Regions from separate parts of the Homo sapiens genome. Here region 1 is linked to region 2. Evidence: promoter capture Hi-C in human tissues and cell types (Jung and others, 2019). All regions are on one chromosome and are shown on one strand. Each heading gives the region's core, a stretch centred on a gene start or on the middle of the fragment in contact. The rest is flanking DNA. Distances are from core to core; before and after follow the strand shown.

What was found. Contacts are between HindIII fragments. The study calls those that stand out against the background at their distance.
Region 1: the fragment with the promoter of EHD4 here is called in contact with the fragment with the promoter of TYRO3 in region 2 in 1 of the 25 tissues and cell types used here (IMR-90 fibroblasts).

The regions. Positions count from the first base shown.
Region 1 is chr15:41,968,152-41,973,921 of GRCh38, reverse strand. It overlaps EHD4 (EH domain containing 4), which reads left to right and starts at 1,365. Exons shown (of 6, transcript NM_139265.4): 1 at 1,365-1,663. The coding sequence starts at 1,428. PLA2G4E-AS1 (PLA2G4E antisense RNA 1) reads right to left here and starts at 1,159. Exons shown (of 4, transcript NR_120334.1): 1 at 924-1,159; 2 at 1-118. RefSeq lists silencers at 1,314-1,443, 1,484-1,553, 1,654-1,923 and enhancers at 3,686-3,905, 5,677-5,726. The HindIII fragment of the contact is 6,706 bases long and covers 1-5,450 here.
Region 2 is chr15:41,556,371-41,562,048 of GRCh38, reverse strand. It overlaps TYRO3 (TYRO3 protein tyrosine kinase), which reads right to left and starts at 2,837. Exons shown (of 19, transcript NM_006293.4): 1 at 2,668-2,837; 2 at 739-922; 3 at 410-510. The coding sequence starts at 2,791. It also overlaps the pseudogene ELOCP2. RefSeq lists enhancers at 1,709-2,350, 2,917-3,418 and silencers at 2,222-2,422, 2,729-2,898, 2,909-3,048, 2,987-3,153, 3,099-3,188. The HindIII fragment of the contact is 10,010 bases long and covers 1-5,678 here.

The sequences.
Region 1 (5,770 bases), core at 116-2,615, 410 kb before region 2:
ACTGCAGGGTGTACTGTTTCCCCAGACTTAGGCCACATCAGAGTCACCTAGGGCATCTGTTGAGCTCCATCTCTCCTCAATATTTTAACTCAGTAGGTCTGGACTGAAGACCAGGAATCTGCATTTTAACAAGCATCCCAGCTCATAAATGCATATATGCAGGTGGCCCCATGGATCACACTTGAGAAATGCTCTAAAACAACTAAGAAATATTCCTAAGCTACAATCAAGGACACAAAAGGTGATTATTTCCCCCAATCTCAACTTAGATAAGTGAGTATCCTTTTAACCTAGAAAAGAAACAGGCCAGGGGCGGTGGCTCACGCCTATAATCCCAATACTTTGGGAGGCCAAGGCAGGCGGATCATCTGAGGTCAGGAGTTCAAGACCAGCCTTACCAATATGGTGAAACCCCATCTCTACTAAAAATACAAAAATTAGCTGGGCATGGTGGTGAGCGCCTGTAGTCCCAGCTACTCAGGAGGCTGAGACAGGAAAATTGCTTGAACCCGGGAAGCGGAGGTTGCAGTGAGCCGAGATCGTGCCACTGCACTCCAGCCTGGGCGACAGAGCGAGACTCCGTCTCAGAAAACAACAACAACAACAAAAAACAGCTAGGAGGTGACAATGACTCACATGTCAATATGTGGAAATAAAGTTGTAATAATGAGGATAATGTAATAATGAGAGTAATGACTAAATTTTCGGCTTTACAGAAAAACACATAAAGAAAACTAAGGGGAAAAAGCCTTTAGCTGATCCAGAATTTAGTGAGGGCAATGTGGAGAAGTAGGAGAAACGGCTACTCAAATAGATTCCAGTCCACTTCCCCTCAAGATTGTGTCAATTATGCCCGTGAGCCTGGGTCTCTTGGCCTGTAAAACGGAGTCATAACCACCCGCCCCCGGGAAGACAGAACCTGCCTGTCCACTTTCTGAACTTTTCATCCCCAGTATCGACGTCCAGAGGCCTGAATGAGTAAACGTTCCAGGAGATGGAGCAGCCTCCGGAGGCTCGCTTTGGGCAGCTCAGATTTACCCGGAAGCCGATGCCACCTGGCCAGAGGTGAGGCACCGGCAACCAGAAGGGGGCCCTGAGCATGACCGGTCAGTGCCACCCGGCCGGGAAGACACCATCTCCCCGCCCAGTCCTCTAGAATGACTCCGTCATCAATAATTCATTAAGAACCTCCTCTCAATTGGCTGACGCCTTCAGCCCTCTCTGGCAGAGATCCAATCAGGAAGGACCTGAGAGAGCTCGTCTGAATAGTGGGCGAGCGCGCGTGACGTAGCGGCCGAAGACTGGCTGTGGCAGCACAAGGCGGGGCCCTCCTCGGGCGGCGGCCAGCGCGGCCGGGGCGGCTCAGTGCGAGCCGGGGAGAGTCGAACCCGGAGCAGGGTCCCATCCGAGCGTGGACTGGCGGCAGGATGTTCAGCTGGATGGGGCGGCAGGCGGGCGGGCGCGAACGCGCTGGCGGCGCGGACGCGGTGCAGACGGTGACGGGCGGGCTGCGCTCGCTCTACCTGCGCAAGGTGCTGCCGCTGGAGGAGGCGTACCGCTTCCACGAGTTCCACTCGCCTGCGCTGGAGGACGCCGACTTCGAGAACAAGCCCATGATCCTGCTGGTGGGCCAGTACAGCACCGGCAAGACCACCTTCATCAGGTACCGTCACCGCCCCTCGCCCGGCTCCCGCCCCGCTCCGCCCTCCCCACGTGTGCGCCGCAGTCGGCCGCCTCCCGCCGCTGCCCCTCCCGGCCGGCGCGACCTCGGGGACCCCTCCCGGAGCTCGGCGCCCGGTGCCCTCGGCCCCGCCCCGGCTGGCCAGCCCCGCGCGCTGGAGGGTCCCGCGAACCCGCGCCCTGCGCACTCCGAGCCCTCCTTCCTTGCGGTTCGGAAGGCGTTGCTCCCGCTGGCCTCGTCCGGTCGCCCTGGCGGGAGGGTCCAAGGGAGAGAGGGGGCGCGAGCCATAATCAGCATATTCTTGACGAGGGAGTGATGCCTAGGGATGGAAATGGGGGGAGAGGCGTAGGGTATCCGAATGGGACAGAGTCCTAGTTGGAGAGTTTGTTTAACTATTCATTTGTTCAACTATTTCTTGAACAAATGAATGGCAGCAGGAGAGCGTATCGCCCAGGCCCCCTTCCCTTGAGGTCTTTACGTGCCACCCCACAGTGTTGTGGGGAGGGGATAAAGAGGCCGCCTACGTTCAGTTCATGCACCGCCTTTAGCCGCCCGTAGGAAGTGAGCTGCGTGTAGCAGCCGCACCAGCCTGTGGAACTAAGGGGGAGTGTCATATTACTATTTGTTAGTTTCCATTTCTTAGGTGGGTCATTCCCTCCTCGCTTACCCTTGACAACTGAAAATATTTGTCATGCTTACCGTGTTTCTGAAAGCACACAATCACTGTGCATACCCTGTGGTTCAAATCATATAGTTTCAAAAGAAGTGACTTTTGCTGGGAAATTATTTAGACAGAAACAGATTGCTTTGTTGATCACCTGTTTTATTTCTAAAGCAGCCAGCATATTTAGGCTCACTGTTTTTGGTAAGAAGAACTTATTTTTCTGACTTAAGCCGTGTATCAGTTGAAACAAAGTGCTGATCATTTAAGGTTTTGGTCCAGGGTTTTGGAAATTGTAACAATCTCTTCATCATTTGATGTGCAACAGGTGTTGAGAAAACTGCATCTATATTTGGATACATGCCATTTCTGTTAAGTAGCGACCTCTTTTTCTCCACTCCAGTGACCTAAATAGTTCCTACAAATAGAGTAGCTATCACTACAGGAAATATGTTAAATCCAGGCCTCCAGATACACTGCGAATGAATTCCACAAAACAAATATACTGTGTATTGAAATGTCGTTCTAGATAATAAATTGAGTGTGAAGAAAGTAATTTCAAAATTGCTTTATTTGGTGCTTATGGACAAGACAAAAATAGAATTAAATATGTCACCGTCACCCAGACACTCAAAATGAACCATAGCTGTATTACAGTAACTGGCACCTTGAAAGATGACAAATGTCACATTTAAGGTCTCAGTAATACTGTCTAGTTTTTAGGTACTAGGGATAATAAAGTGTTATGGCCAAGTGGTACAAGAGTGGGAAGCGGTACTGTTGAAACATACAAAGAAGAAAGGCATATATTTTTGTAATTTAGTGGTGGCATGTCCCCACACCCTAGGCATTTCCTCCTGTTTGTCTTTGCTGTGAGGTCCTTGTTGTGCCCAGGTGTCATCAGGGAGCCCCTGCTAGATGCTGTGCCAACCTGGAGATAATGCAGCCCTCTCTCTGCTCCCATAGACTGGATAGCTAGCCAGCCTGATTATCAACTCCCAGGAAGATGAATACAACTCACAGGAACATGAATTTATCTTTTGTATTTTTCCAGATTTCTCTCTCATTATATTCTCACTCTTCTCTCTGTTTCATTATTTGGAGAAATTTGTGGAATAGCTAAGCGCAGTTTTATGAAGGGTTCTGAGATTTGATTCCTGGCAGCTACCTCATCCAAATTGGCCACCTCTCAGCAGGTGCTGGAGCTGTGGGCCACCCTAGGGTGAGGGAGGAATCACCTTATTAGGAAGCCATTTGTTCTTGAGGCTTTCCTTGAGCTAAGTGGCTTTGTTGTTAGGTGATGTACACAAGGTAGACCAGTGAGGTTAGAAGAAAATCAGTGTGGGCAGGAAGCTTGGTGAGGCCACAGGAGACCTGAATTGCTTTTCAGATTGGAGCTAGGAGGAAGTGATTTAGCACCCGGGAGGAAATCCCCAAACAAAAGGGCAGCTACCCTGGAGACTTGTGAACTTGGAATTAAATATCACCCCAGACACTGTAAATGAACCATGGATTCATCTTGAGCGGAAGGGTTGGCCCAGGGTGCTGAGCATCCTGGATCCTGCCTTAGTTAGAGCCTGGTTAGTGGTCTGGGTTGTTTGCTTCTAGCGATTGGGCCCTAGAAGCTCATACTTGGCTGTGGGGTGTACCTAATCTACATAGCCATAGATTCTTATCTCCCTGGCTTCCTGCACATTCCAAGAGGTCACTGATGACACAGAACCTGTGCTGACATGGTGGGAATCTTCTCTTATTGCTGTTGGCTCTTCTGCCTTTGACTGGCAATAAAGAATTGGCCAGAGAAGGAGGGGAGATGGGCATGGGGGAAAGTGACCATGTCATCTTAGACTCTGTACTAGCCGAGGAAGGATGGATATGGAGCTCACCCAGGCTTGTGTCCAAAACTTGAGGAAAACAGATTTCAAAGATTCCTCCAGAAAATCCCTGGCCCCAGGTGCTGTGAAGGAAGACATTTCCACTGAAAAAGTATGAAGTCCATTTGAAATGAATGCAAACTACACAATTTTTTTTTTTTGAGACAGTTTCGCTGTTGTTGCCCAGGCTGGAGTGCCATGGCATGATCTCGGCTCACCGCAACCTCCCCCTCCCGGGTTCAAGCAATTCTTCTGTCTCAGCCTCCCGAGTAGCTGGGATTACAGGCATGTGCCACCACGCCTGGCTAATTTTGTATTTTTAGTAGAGATGGGGTTTTTCCATGTTGGTCAGGCTGGTCTCAAACTCCCGACCTCAGGTGATTTGCCCGCCTTGGCCTCCCAAAGTGCTGGGATTACAGGCGTGAGCCACCGCGCCCCATCCCAAACTACACATTTTTAAGAGCTCCACTTTCTCCCTTCATATGCTCTGTTCCCTCTCCCCAGAAAACTTATTCTAATGAGGAAAAAAGAGGGAAGTCACTCAAGAAACTATATAGGCTTTAAAAGGGTAGAGAGCAGGGAAATAAGGCAAGAAAAGAAATAAACTCCCAGACTGGAGAGAAAAAAGTAAAACTCTTTGCAGATGACATGATCTTCTATGTAGAGAATCCTAAGAAACCACTTAAAAACTATTAGAACAATGGGGGAAACTATAGTTCAACAAATGGTGCTAGGACAACTGGATAGCCGCATGCAAACGAAATAGAGAATGACTGTTAGTGGGCGTGGAGTTTCTCTTTGATGTGATGAAAATGTTCTGAAATTGGATAATGATATTGGTTGCACAACTTTGTGAATATACTAAAGGAGTGCACCCTGTAAAAGAATAAATTTTCTGGTATATGAATTATATCTCAATAAAAAACCAAAACAATTCAGTCTTTCAACACTAAGCATCATGTGATTTAATTTTCATGATTCTGCAACTAGCGCCAGCCAAGTAATTTCTGCATCTATGTGTAATAATTTAAAATAGAAATGGATGCCAGAAAGAAAACAAAGTAGAAATAAGCTAGAAGAACCCAAGGGCAAAGGAACTAAAGAGTAAAGATGAGGGGCCAGGTGCAGTGGCTCACACCTGTAATCCTAACACTTTGGGAGACTGAGGTAGGTGGATCGTTTGAGCTCAGGAGTTCAAGACCACCCTGGGCAACATAGTGAGACCCCATCTCTACAAAAAAAAAAAAAAAAAGGAGTAAAGATGAGGGAAAAGGGAGTGAAAGTAGCCATCCCACAATCCCTGTATGAGTATTCTTGTCAATGTATAAACATGTTCATTGTTCATAACACTCAAGTTGGTAAAATCAAAGTATGATAAAAATTTTTAATAAAATGCTTGATACCGTAATTGTGTTTAAAAACTTTAGATATTAACATTTAACTATAGTATTTAATAGGGGAAAAAAGGGGCAGGGGTGCATGTGCAAGGGTGCAGACAAGGTTTATGGGCGGTATGAAGGATCAAGAAGCTGGAGTGGGCTGAGAAGGTAAAAG
Region 2 (5,678 bases), core at 1,588-4,087:
CAGCTCCCATTCAGGGCCCTTTGTTACTTTCTTAGTCACTTTGTTTTCCTGGGCTGAACAGCTCTGAGCTCCCGCAGCTGCAGAGCCTTCCTCCCCTCCCCCTGCTGGCCAGGCCACTTGGCAGAACAGGGTCCAGTCCCAGATGGATGCTTGAAGCTTGTTGCTCAAGCAACGGAAACAGACTGCACCCCACAGGTTGTGGATCCCAGTTGGTCCCTTGGTTCTCAGATACCCAACTCCAACTGGTAGGGTCTTCCGACATCTGGAGTGGGCCTACAGCCTGGACAACCAGGCCCCACAGAGCAGTGGGGCAGCCCAGCTTCTACTGAGTTCTCCGCTGCAGAGGTATAGTCACCAGCAGACAGCACGTGCTCCAGGCCAACACGCCCATATGGCTCTGCCTCCTCACCTTCTACCGTGAGCCACACTGGCTGGGAGATCTCGGTTTCACCCCCATCCTCCACCTGGCACCAGTACCGGCCGGCGTCAGAGCGCTCCACTGACTTCAGGCTGTGGAAACAGGATACGAGGCTTGCTTCCGAGGGCAAGGGCGGCAGCTCTGCTGGGCAAACTTGATGAGTTCAGCCTGCCCCCACTTCTGGAAGGTCCCACAGGTAGCCAAATAAAAAAACCACAGACCTCTGGGCATCAGGAGAGGGCCCCAGCTCCCAATCCCCAAGGAAAGAGCATAGCCTGCCCCCTGGCTGGCAGCCCACACCTTCCCCCACAGGCCTGCACCTGAGGAAGCCGATCCAGTGCTGCTCGCTGACTGGGATGTACAACTGGTCCAAGTTCTGGACCACAGCCCCATCCTTCACCCACTGGATGTCAGGCTCCTCCATCCCCTCCACACTGCAGTTGAGCTTCACCGGCTGCCCCTGAGACACTGTCAGCTTCACCGGGGCTCCCATGAGCTTCAGACCTGAGGGGTGGGAAGGAACATGTGTCAGCCTTGAGAGGGACTCTGTCTCTGTAAACAGTTCCCATTCTCTTCTAGAAGGTAGCTTCTGTGTCAGACAGAGGGCTCTTTCTCAGCCAAAGTCAAGGAAGCAGAGGTAGGACAGTGTGGAAGGGAAGGTCGCTGGACCTGGGCGAAGGGAAGGGGCATGGCAAGCTCTCCAAGTTCCCTCCGGCTCTAAGGACCTCTTCCCCATGTCCTCCTTCTGAGCCCAGACAGCAAAAGGAAGGCAGGCTGGGCTGAAACGATGGGAGTTACCCTACTGGGGCAGGCACTGCTCTAGGAATGACTGCTGCACCCAACTAGTGCAACAGGCTGCCAGCTCTCCACCCAAGGTGTCAGCCCAGACCCTGAATTGCTGCCAGCACCCTCTGCACCCAACCTTACCAAATGGAGCAGGGCTGAAGAAGGAAAGGAGGGGGTGCTCCCCTGAAGTGGAGAACATATGGCTGCAAAACCACGTCAGATCAAACACATGGCAGCCTTCCTGGCAGCCATCCACTCTATTAATACCTGAATGTGGGCAGGGGCGAGTGCTAGGAAGGTGGGAGGCAGAAGGGAGGGCTGGGGCCCTGAGCAGGGAGCCTAAGACCCCTGAGCCACTGCCACATTAACAGGGGCCACTCTTTGGAACTTGCGTGCGAGCGCGCGCGCGCGCGCGCACACACACACACACACACACACACACACACACACATACACGCACCTCTCCTGGCCTCCTGGCATGTTTTTAAGCAGAGAGAGGGGCAGGTCAAGTATCCACATAACTGAAATCCAGCCCTGCTTCTTCTCACCCTTTGCTGTGTGACTCTAGGCAAAGTCGTGGGCTCCCTGAGCATCAGGTCCGCACCTTTCGGCTTGTAAATACTCGTCACCCCGTTTCCCTTCCCTTCCCTGAGAGGCTGATATGGCAAGGAATGCTGTCTCAAGAGAAGATGCCAGCGGGTGGCCGCTGTCCTGGCCTGTGGCTCTTCCCTGCTCCCTTCACCCTCTCAGGACCAGTCACAGGATGGGGGCCAGCCTCCCGCTCCCTATATGCCCATCAGTCCCCGAGGTGCGGGGTGGGAACTTGGAGAGCACCGTGCTGCATGGAACGCTCTTGTCACCAGCAAATGCCTCAGTGGCTATGTGGGAACACAAGACTAACCCCTCCCAAAGACCAGCAACCTGGCACCAGCCCATCCTCTCCAAGGTTCTGCTTTCAGGAAGCTCTGAGGGCACAGGAACTCGAGTGTGCCCATTTGTTTTTTGTGACTGGGCACCCTCACAGCCCCTGTGTACCTAAATGGTATCAGGGTGGCCTTTGGGTGCCCAGCCCCGGCCCGTGTGGTTTCCGAGGCGGACCTTCGCGTGCGGGGCAGGCAGAATGGGGTCCCCAGTACTGGGAAGGAGGGAGCTAACAGCTGGGAACATCGAGGCGGGAAAATGCAGTCCCAAACACTCCCCGCTGACCACACAGCCCACACCCCGCTCCCTTCTCTTCCACCCCGCCAGAAGAGCCCCGAGCGCCAGAAAGTTGGGGGTGGGGGCCCGGCCGGAGATCTGGCGGCGAGCACTCCGCAGCGTGCCCTGTCCCGGCTCCGAGCCTCGGCCTTCGGCTCCGGACCCCCACCCCGACTCCAGCCCGCCAGGCCCGCCCCGGGCTCCGACCCCCGGCCGCGCCCCTCCGCAGCCCCCCGCTTCCCGCCGCCTCCCGTGCCAGCCCCTACCTGCGGCGGCGGACTCCGGGAGCAGCAGAGAAGCCAGAGCCGCCAGCAGCAGCCCGAGCCGCGGTGGCGGCGGCAGCGGCAGCGGCGGGAGCCCCGGCCGCCCCATGCTCCGCCTCAGCGCCATCGGCGGCGACGCCGCACCATGCCGGGCCCGGCCCGCGAGCGAGGAGGGAGGAGGGCGGGGAGGAGGCGGCGGGAAGGGAGCGGGAGGGAGGAGGGCTGCGGGAGGGGCTGGGGCCGCCCGTGGGGCGGTGCTGAGGCGACCGCCTCCGAGACCCGCGCCCGCCTCCGGCCGCGGTCGCCGCCGTCAGCAGCGCGGGGTCCCCGGGGCCGCTCCCGCGCCACCGCGCTCCTTCCACTGCCGTCGCCGCCGTCGCCGCCGCTGATTCATGTTCTTCTCGGAGCCGCCGCCTCCTCCCGGCCCGCCCGCAGCCCGAGCTCGCACCGCCCCCCCGCGGAGCCCCGGCGACTGGCTCGGAGCGCGAATCCCAGCCAGCGCCGCAAACCCCCGCGGCCCCGCCGGCGCCCCGCCGGCACGCCGGCCCCAGCCGCCCCCTGGCCAAACCTGAGGATCCGGCTTGGCCTCCAGGATGGGCTCCCCGGCCACGCCCCTCCTTTCCCTAAACCCGCTCCGGCATCTTTTCTAACCCAGCCCTCCAGAGCCTTCCCTCAAAACCCCGCTGTCAGCCCCCACCACACCCCAACTCTTGTTCGGACTCTGATCCCAGAATCCAGCATCCCCCTCTCAGGACTTAGAGCACCTCAACCCCTAGACACTCCCATCCATCTGGCTCCCCGAAACTGCCGTGACCCGGGGCTCCCCCAACAGGATCGGCTAGCATCCCTTCGTGCCTCCCTTTCATTGAGCCATTCACCCAAAATCCCCATATTCATGTCCTATTGCCATGCCTTTATCTCCAAGTCCCTCCCACCTGAAAAATGCCCATTTTCTCCAGCCCCAATTGCCGTATGTTTTCCAACTTGGGTCCTGAGTTTCCCAAGATCTTGGTAATCCCCAGGTTTTACCTAATATATATCCCCACCACTACACTACACAGGCCAAAGCCTAATTGCCCGTATCTTTTTGGGCTGTCATTTTTCCTGGTTGCTTCCCCTGCTTCTACCCCTTTTCCCAGGACCTGGTGTGAAAGTTGGCTGTGTCGTCACACTGTCCAGTCAAACATTAGCTATTATTAGTAGACCACCTTGCACACAGTAGGCTTTCCATAAATAAATAGGCAGATGCCTGTTAAATGAATGAATAATTGCTTCAGAGCCTGCCCCACAACCAGTAATCACGAGGGTGGCCTTGCCCACAGACATCCTGTTAGGCACATGCAGAGCTGGTTCCAAACCAAGCCTACCAAGTGTGCTCCTCCCCTTGCCCTTCCCTCCAGGGGGAAGCCCACCCCACACCCCTTCCAGAGGTCCTGGGTAGAGAGGAGGGACCAGCCACTCAGCTCCGGTTGCCGCAGGCTCACTGGATCTTTTCAGGGATTCTCCTGAGCAGCAGGGGCCTGCCTCTTCTTCCACTTGGCCCCAGCAGTGCTTGTTTATTAATTACCCTAATGATAACAACAGCAGTGCTGGCAGCAGCCTGAGACCCAGCTGGGGGCGCCCCCAGGCGGCAGCAGGAGGAGAGACTCATGAGGCACTGTCAAGACATGGATGGCAGGGGCCAGATATCTCTGTCTCTGTTTCTTTCTTTTTTTTTTTTTAATTGGCATATTTGTTTATTTCTCAGTTTGTGAAAATGTTCTTAATTTGTTGATGTAGCAAACAAATTTCAACTTTGATTGCTATGAAAAAAACAAGATAATCTGCTTTGCAATGAACTTTATATAGTTAAACTGCATACAGGCAACATGCTATATATGAAAAAGTTACTAACTGATCTACAGGTATTACATACTGAAAAGAGTTAACAGTTTATTATAATTTATTTTATTTAACAATCTAGGAAGTTCGCAGCCATCAGCAGTTCTAGTACAATTTCAGGTGCAATTGGGAATTCAGGAATCTCGATGGAGCTGTTAGTGTAGCGAACCTTGTAGGTAAAATACATGCATACTTTCGATAGCACATGTGAAGGTATCTCTCTAAAATTGACCTCATTGGTTTCGTTCTCAGCAAACTGACCTCACAGCATAAACAAAAATTAACTTAAGACCAAAGACCTAAATTTAAAAGCCAAACCCATAAAACGCCTGGGCCACTCAACATGGCTTTTATCGTGCCTGATGTTAATGCATGTTCTCTTTTTACAATAAATTCATGGCCATCAGATGATATCAATTTGACATACGTGGCATCAGGGCCTTCACAGCCACCATAGGTTTTCTCCTCTCCATCCATTTTGTTCTTATGAAATTCTACTTTGCTTCCCCAGGAACTTTAGTAGTTTCCTGGTGAGGCGAGGACACAGAGTGTGTGGCTCACTTCCGTCTCCTCTGTCTCTGTTTCACTGAGCTCTCTGGCAATTATGTTCTTCTTCCTTCTTCCTTCTTCTTCCTTCTTTCTTCTTCTTCTTCCTCTCCCTCTCTTCCCCTTCCCCTTCCACTTCCCCTTCCCCTCCTCCTCCTCCTATTCTTCTCTGCTTCTTCCTCTTCCTCTCTTTCTTCTTCTTCTTCTTCTTTTTTTTTTTTAGATGAAGTTTCACGCTTGTCGTCCAGGCTGGAGTGCAATGGTGCGATCTTGGCTGACTGCAACCTCCACCTCATGGGTTCAAGCGATTCTCCTGCCACAGCCTCATGAGTAGCTGGGATTACAGGTGCCCACCACCACGTTCGGCTCATTTTTGTATTATTAGTACAGACAGGGTTTCACCATGTTGGCCAGGCTGGTCTCAAACTCCTGACCTTAGGTAATCCGCCCACCTCGGCATCCCAAAATACTGGGATTACAGGTGTGAGCCACTGTGCCTGGCCTCTCTGCCAATTTTCTTGAGCACTGTGGGTCAGCTTCAGGACCCTTTCCCAAAGGAAAAGTCTCGTTACTTTCCAGAATCCACA